2 separate regions of the Homo sapiens genome follow, and region 2 is linked to region 1. Evidence: promoter capture Hi-C in 16 types of primary human blood cells and fetal thymus (Javierre and others, 2016). All regions are on one chromosome and are shown on one strand. The core of a region is centred on a gene start or on the middle of the fragment in contact, and the rest is flanking DNA. Distances in the headings are between cores, read along the strand shown. Region 1 holds the start of OSBPL3 (oxysterol binding protein like 3). Region 2 overlaps GSDME (gasdermin E).

What was found. Contacts are between HindIII fragments. The CHiCAGO score rates a contact against its expected background, and 5 or more counts as called.
Region 2: a contact is called between a fragment that was not itself captured here and the fragment with the promoter of OSBPL3 in region 1, in 1 of 17 cell types (M0 macrophages). The highest score is 5.4, in M0 macrophages.

Annotation. Positions count from the first base shown.
Region 1 is chr7:24,978,354-24,981,810 of GRCh38, reverse strand. It overlaps OSBPL3 (oxysterol binding protein like 3), which reads left to right and starts at 1,633. Exons shown (of 23, transcript NM_015550.4): 1 at 1,633-1,925. RefSeq lists an enhancer at 164-333 and silencers at 1,474-1,983, 2,034-2,243. The HindIII fragment of the contact is 2,254 bases long and covers 72-2,325 here.
Region 2 is chr7:24,706,446-24,709,902 of GRCh38, reverse strand. GSDME (gasdermin E) reads left to right here. Exons shown (of 10, transcript NM_001127453.2): 7 at 1,649-1,776. Among named protein-coding and RNA genes, the nearest start is that of GSDME, 49 kb to the left of the region's middle. The HindIII fragment of the contact is 1,593 bases long and covers 1,411-3,003 here.

The DNA of each region.
Region 1 (3,457 bases), core at 384-2,883:
CGCTGGTCGGGCTTTGCGAGGTGGTTTAGGAACCGCGGAGTCATTCGATTTGAAATCTTCTCCAATAAGCTTCTCCGTGTGCCGACGTGGGCAGCATGACAGTGGATTTGCTCGGCAGCATCTCTGGCGCCTCCCGCCCTCGCCCGCCGCCTGCCAGATCCGAAACAGACAGTCCCAGACATTTCGCGAGGGGGATGGTTCCAGAAAGCGAAGATCTGAGCGTGGTGAATGAAATGTGAACAGAATAGCTCCGGAAAGAGTCTCAGAAACCTTGAATTGGGGTCAGTTTGGAGACTGAAAATGCGTCGAGCGCTGCAGGTGGTGGTTGGCAGGGGGATTTAACACTGTGGAGCCCTTACTCCGTCCCAGGCGCTGAGCCCAGCGAGCCACGCGCGGTGCCCAGCTCGGTGAGGTCGGTTAGTTGGGTCTTCAGGGAGGCTAAATACCCTGTATTTGCTATTCCCTTCGCCTGGAACGCTCTGTGCGAGACTGGGTGTGGCAGCTCCTTTCCCAGGCTCAGGAATCTGGGTAAAAGCCACCCTCGCCTAGAGGCCCTCAGGGTGAGCGCCCCATCACGCGCTAAACCACTTTCGAAAGTGGACTTGGCCCTCCTCTCAGTACTAACAGTCTGTCAGCCTTTTATTTTTTGCATAGATATGTATTTTCTCTTCTTTATTGTCTGTCTTTCCACAAAAAATGCAAGCCCCGTGAGTACTGGAGCCTGGTGCGCCTTTCTCACAGTTGCAAGCTCGCAACTGCTCCTGGCATATACTAGGTGCTCACTAAATGCTCATGCCCTTCCCACCCGCCACCTGCGGCACTCGACACATTTGCAGTCTGCAAACTGACCCCAAACCATCAGCTGCTTGCATTCGTCCTAGGATCAAAGAAGGCCATTGGGCTAGTGGGAAGTCAAGTCGGGTGGACTTTTCCGTCTTTCAGGGAGATTTAATAGTAACGACGGTGCTCTCCCCACCTCCTACCCCCTTGCACATAAACTGCACAGAACAAAATCACCCCGGCACGAATCTGCACGACTGCCTCTGGAGGTAGGGTCACGGTCTCCGAGCCCCGGGTCTCACACTGATGCTGTCCTTTGTCATCTCGTGCCTAGAGTGCTGCCTCCCTATGTATTTCCTCTGTTCTCGACTCCTCTGCCACAGTCTGACTTTCTCGGGAGGTCGAGTTCTCCTAGCCTGTGCGACCGCAAGGGTCCCCTGGAGCCTTCTCCGTAAACCTGCCCCTCCCGCGCTGCCCTCACTTTTTCCTCCTTCCCTGGCCCGGAAAAGCCACTAGAGGAACATTTACCGAACGCCTACCGCGCGCAGGCACCGAGCTGGGCCACCGGGAGCCCCACCCAGTGCCTCGCCGCAGGACTCGCCTCCCTCCGCCCTCCCAACCCATCCGGAATCCGGGGTCCCTAGTTCCCCCGCCGCGTCATGGAATCCGCTGGCTTCTTCCGAGGACATCGCCCCACCTCCTTCCCGAAAGGCGACTTCTGATTGGTGAGATTGTGCATCACTCTGCCGCCCTCCCGCCCCCTCGGGGCCCCGCCCCTGGGCCTCTCAGGCCCCTCCCCTGCGCTCCCGCCCTTGCGCGGCTCCTCGGGCTAATCGCCGGGCGGCGCGCGCCGAGAAGTTCTGGGCAAAGTACTCAGAACTGGCCGCGTGCTGGTGGCGCCCGCCAGCCGGCCCGGGAGAGGGGACTTGAGCGCTTCGCGGCCGGTGCGCAGCGCGGCTCCGGCCCCGCAGTCTGTCTGCAAGTGGCCATCCCCGCCCCCGACTCCTGCGGCCGGTGCGGGAGCTGTCAGCTGCACGTTGCGGGGGTACCGGAGAAGCCGGGGTTGCCTTCTCCCGGTTCTGTGCGCTAACCCCGGAGCCCGGCCCCGGGGAACTAGGGAGCGTCTCCGGCTGCACAGCGCTCAGGTGAGTGGCGGGGCGCCCGCCTAAATGGGGCCTGGGTGTCGGGGGGCCTGGCGGCGGCGCGGGCTCGGAAGGGCTGCTGTTTGCGGGGCGCCGCGGTTCTCTGCCGGACCGGGGTCTGTCCGAGTCGCCCGGGGAGGCTCCGGCCCTGGGGCAGACCCAAGCCTGGGAGCTTGGGTGCCGGCTGCAGCTCCCGGGGAAGGAGGACCCGGGTCTCACCCACCCCAGGACACCTTCCCTCGAGGGACGGCTCAGAGGATTGACCGCCAGGAGGAGCCGAGCGCAGGGGCCGCGGCGCAGGTGCGGGAGGACGCGGCGCGCGGAGCTGTCCTGGGCAGCGGGGAGGCGCTACGCCGGGGCTAGAGGCTCAGGAAGCCTGGTAAATTGGGGCGAGCGCGAAGCTTTACCACATCCGCGGGATGGGGCGCGCCGGAGAGACTGAGACAACGCTCGCGGGGCAGGCGCTCCGCTCGCCCGCCTTCCCAACCCCGGCTTGCTCAGCTCCCCGGTGCTGGGCTGGAGGCCCAGGGCACATTCCTTTCTTGTCTGAATTTACATATTCATCAGCTTTCTGGCCCCTTCTGGAATTTTTTTTTTTTGTTAGTTTCCAATTACTACTGTTCAGATCACCTTCAGGCTCACCCTAACTCTCGTCTCAGTGTCTCTCACATTGGTCCTTTCCTGGAGGCCCTGCAGCGTCTTAGTTCAGGGTCTTAGGGACTTATGCACTCTGTCTGAACGTTGTCTACAGTTGGGTTTTCCTACCTCTGTCTCTGTTTATTCCGTGGTCAGGTAAATTCTTTAAGTACTGTCATCATAAGCCAGAAACTCCCAGGCAGCCTCTTAGCGCTGCCCAGCTTCCCGGGGAGCGTTTGTGGCCTCTGGAGTCGCTGATGGGCACTGTCGCAGGTCGTCCAGATACTTCTTAAGCAGGGGCGCGCCGCCCTTCCTTCGGCAACGCAACTTGCTTGCTGCCTTCTGCACACTTGTGCTTGTCCTTCTCCGCCTCACAAGCCACCAGTCTCCTCAGTCGGGACTCTTGGAGCTGAGGGGACTGTGAAGTTGTCGGTTTCCATGTGTCTGCGTACTGCGCAGAGGTGCTTGAGACCCCCTAGGTGTTGCTCTGACCCTCAGAGTTTGAGTATTGGGATGAGGGCATTTAGAAATATTTTAAACTACAGCTGCAAAAGAGATACTTCCACAGATGGGTGAAAGCGAAGGCCTGGCTTCTCATCATCTGCACTGTACCCCGCAAGTATCATACAAGGTGAGGTCCTTGGCTAAAGGACTATACTTGGCTAAAGGAGATCAGTCAAGCAGGCCTAGGTTCTTATGCATCCAAGCTAAATGACCATCCCCTCCAGCCAAGCCACATCACCCGTTTGCTGTTGCTCATAGCACTTAAATTTCTCTCTGAAATTGTCTCTTTGGGTTATTGGGTTATCTGCCTTCCCTCATTAGGATGTAAGTACCAGGAATGCAGAGACCTTGTCTGTCTTGTTCATCACTTGATCCCCTGTGTCAAGAACACGCAG
Region 2 (3,457 bases), core at 958-3,457, 270 kb after region 1:
ACTAAGAATGGCTCATCAGCCGCGAGGATGGAGAACCCGTTCTGCATCTGTTTTGTTATATTCTGGGCTTCATTGTCAAGACAAGCAATGCTTTGTCAGCCTTGCAAAATGCTCTCTTGGAGGCTCTTTATCCACATGGCATGGACTGCATGGTGCCAAAGAGGAAGAGGGGCCATGCCCAGGATGTGCCTGCAGCAATTCCTTTTGCTCCTCACAGCGTATTGTGCTTTAGAAAGCTGGTTTCTTTTGTCGGGGATGTGGGGGCGCAGCATATAGGAGGAGATGGGCAAGGAAAAGGAGAAACAAATAGGTGAGAGCTTAGCACAAAGAGCTAGGAACCGCTCCGTGTGCGCGCTGGCTTGGAGGGTAAGCACAGAAGCCCTGGTGACTACATCTGTGGAGCTTCGATGAGTCCCAAACCAGGATGCTTTTGTAGCAAAAATGTCCGTATTTGAAGAAATGACAACAAAGGCCCAATTTTAATATAAGGCTTTCCTATCTTGGCTTCCTTGAGATGGATAAGTGGGTGCAATTTTCAGCTGCCACTTGAAGGATTTTGTCATTGTGGGTTAGAACCACAGCAAAATGGCCCTGCAGCCACTGGGTAGCAGAAGGCAGTCCCGTGCTGCAGCTTCCTTCTGTCCTGCCCACAGGCCCACCCTTCGAGTTGGCCATTCTGGTCAGCAGGGGTGCAGTGGGAGCTGGGTGTGCGACTGGACCGACCAGGACAGCTTCTCTCTTCAGGCTGGGACTGGTAAAGACAGTTGTGTGTATAGCAGAGTTTTGAAATATGTTGGTTACTGATGTTCTGTGTTCCTCTGCGTGGGGCTTTATACAACTGCTAGTTGGAATCGTCCATCCTCATGGGTGGTACATTGATGTATTAGTGTGCATCCCTGCATACGAAACCTTTATCAAATCTTTAAAAATAAAATCTCCACTAGACTTAATTTACAAGAAGCTTCTGAGTATCTTAAAAACAAACAAACAAACAAAAAAACCAAAAAACAAAGAAAGGAAAAGAGATTCTAAGGGGAGAGGCCCCTAAGCATCCTGCAGAGGCAATAGCTTCGGGGACTCAGTGCTCAGCTTGAGGACTCATGAAGAAGCAAAGGATAGAGAAAGAATAGCTGTGCTTGCCATGAAAATAGGGTGCCAGCCCCTTTAAAAATGGGCATTAAATATTAAAGGATAGAAAATCTGCAATGTACTACAAGAAAGGACGTGAAAAATAATGTATTTTGGAATTTGTATGGCTCTAAAGCATTGTAAAAGCACTGACTTGTTTAGTAATTCAGCTTTGATAATTTACTTCTAGAGAAGTCATGCTAAAGAAGAATTTAAATAACTTTTCCAGAAAATAATTGATTAGACTTAATGTTTAGTGAGTCATCAGAGAAGAGTGAAGCTTGAAATACAAAACTTGGCTTCCCTCTTTCTCTCTCTCTCCTCCCTCCCTTTGGTTATTGAAAAATATGCAGGGTGGCTTGTAACTTGATGTTTATTTCTGAGTTCCATGACTGACTATGCAGCTGGGAATATCCATGAAAGAACTGATGACGATTAGGTATAAAAAGCAGGAGTTGCTGTCCGACGTCGTGAGATGTGCATCGCAGTCATGAGACTTGGGTGTGCTTTGTTTTCACAGCGACCCTGCTCCTGGAGAGGAATTTCCATCCATTTGCGGAGCTGCCTGAGCCACAACAGACAGCTTTGAGTGACATCTTCCAGGCGGTCCTATTTGATGATGAACTACTCATGGTCCTGGAACCAGTGGTGAGCCCTGAGACATCTCAAGGCAGTGTTTTCACTGGGGTTTTCTGGAACAGGGGAGGAGGCAGGATGGAATTGTGTTAAAGGTTCCCCCGCCTCCTTTTCTCCCTACAGCTGTCTCTTTTCTGACTCTTGGGTCCTGCGTTTTCTAAGTGCAGACAGGTAGCTGGCATCGGGTGGAGGGAGGTGTTAATTTCCTAGGGCTGCCTCAACAAACCTGAGGGCTTAAAAAACCAGGAATTTATTCTCTCATAGTTTTGGAGCCCAAAAGTCCAAAGTCTAGGTGTCTGCAGGGCCACACTTCCCCCAGAGGATCTAGGAGAGAATTCTGCTGCCTTGTCTCCTTCCAGCTGCGGATGGCTCCTAGTGTTCCTGGCTCATGGCAGCAGCACTCCAGCCTCTGCTCTGTCTCCATGTGGGCTTCCCCTCTGTGTGTGTGTGTGTGTCTTCTCCTTTACTGTCTGTTATAAAGACACCATCATTGGATTTAGGGCCCACCCCAATCTAGGATGATCTCATTTTGATTTCCTTACTTTAATTACATCTGCAAAGACTAAGGTCACGTTCTTAGGTTCCAGGTAACATATGTTGGTGGGCCACTACTCAGACTACTGCAAGGGGGTCGTGTGGTGGAATCTATAAAGTCAGCCTGTTCCATTTAGAACAGAGAAATAAATAGGCTTTTGCACTGTTGTGTTTTGCAGCAGAAGGATATCCTGGGGAGGTCAAGTTCCTTAACTCTTAGTTGTACAAATGGTGAGAGCCACACAAGCTGCCAACCCTCCAGCCACCCAGATTCTGTGTCCTCCCTTTCTTAAGGCTGAGGCTTTATAAACCTGATTTTGACTACAGTTTTGTTTTTTGTTCTTTTGTTTTTCTATTATATTATGCAGGGAGTTTGAATAACTGATTTAGTGCTTTATGGTTTCCAGGGAAGTGTTCATATTATTTTTCTCTCTTGAAATTAGATTGTGCCGAAAGAGCCTGGGTATCAGTGATGGAACCTGTTATTGAAACAGTCCCACAGCCCAGGACATTTGCATTCTAGAGGGTGGGGAGCTCAGCTCCAGGGAGAACAGTGTTTTAAAAAGCCCATTGACTTCTACTTCCGAAAATAACTTCTTCCAAGAGGAAAATGTCAGGCCAGCACCCTGTGGAGAGAGCCTCAGCTGCCCTGTCAAATGCTGGAGAAGCAAGCTGCCCGGCTGGTGGCGAGGGTGGGGTCAAGCTTTCAGATGATCGGATCTGGACACCAAGGCTGTGGGTGGTGCAGAATTGGCGGGGTGGTCCGAACTGGCTCTCCAGCAGGGTCGCCTCACTCCACAGCAGGCTCTGTGGGGACAGATGCAGCTGCCCAGTGCCCGGTGGGAATGTGGCCGGGGGCTGGAGCGCCTAGCTTAACGCATGAGAACCAAGACAAGACGATGCTTGAACATCGCCCTCCCCAGTTCTGTGTGTAACCACTTGTTTCTGGTCCCTGGCACTACCCAACAGACCCTGCCCTGGAAGGTTCTATGCCACAGTTCCAGCAAGTACGCCCCCAACCCTCGTGGGCCAGGTTCAGCTTACTGTCCCGTCAGTGAAATGTAGCCACCAAGGATTAGCAATTTCAGAACGTAGAGAAGAGCTGCGGGTCGTACTTTCCTCGGGGGAGTGGGAAGGGCTGGGGCTTGTGTGTACTGTG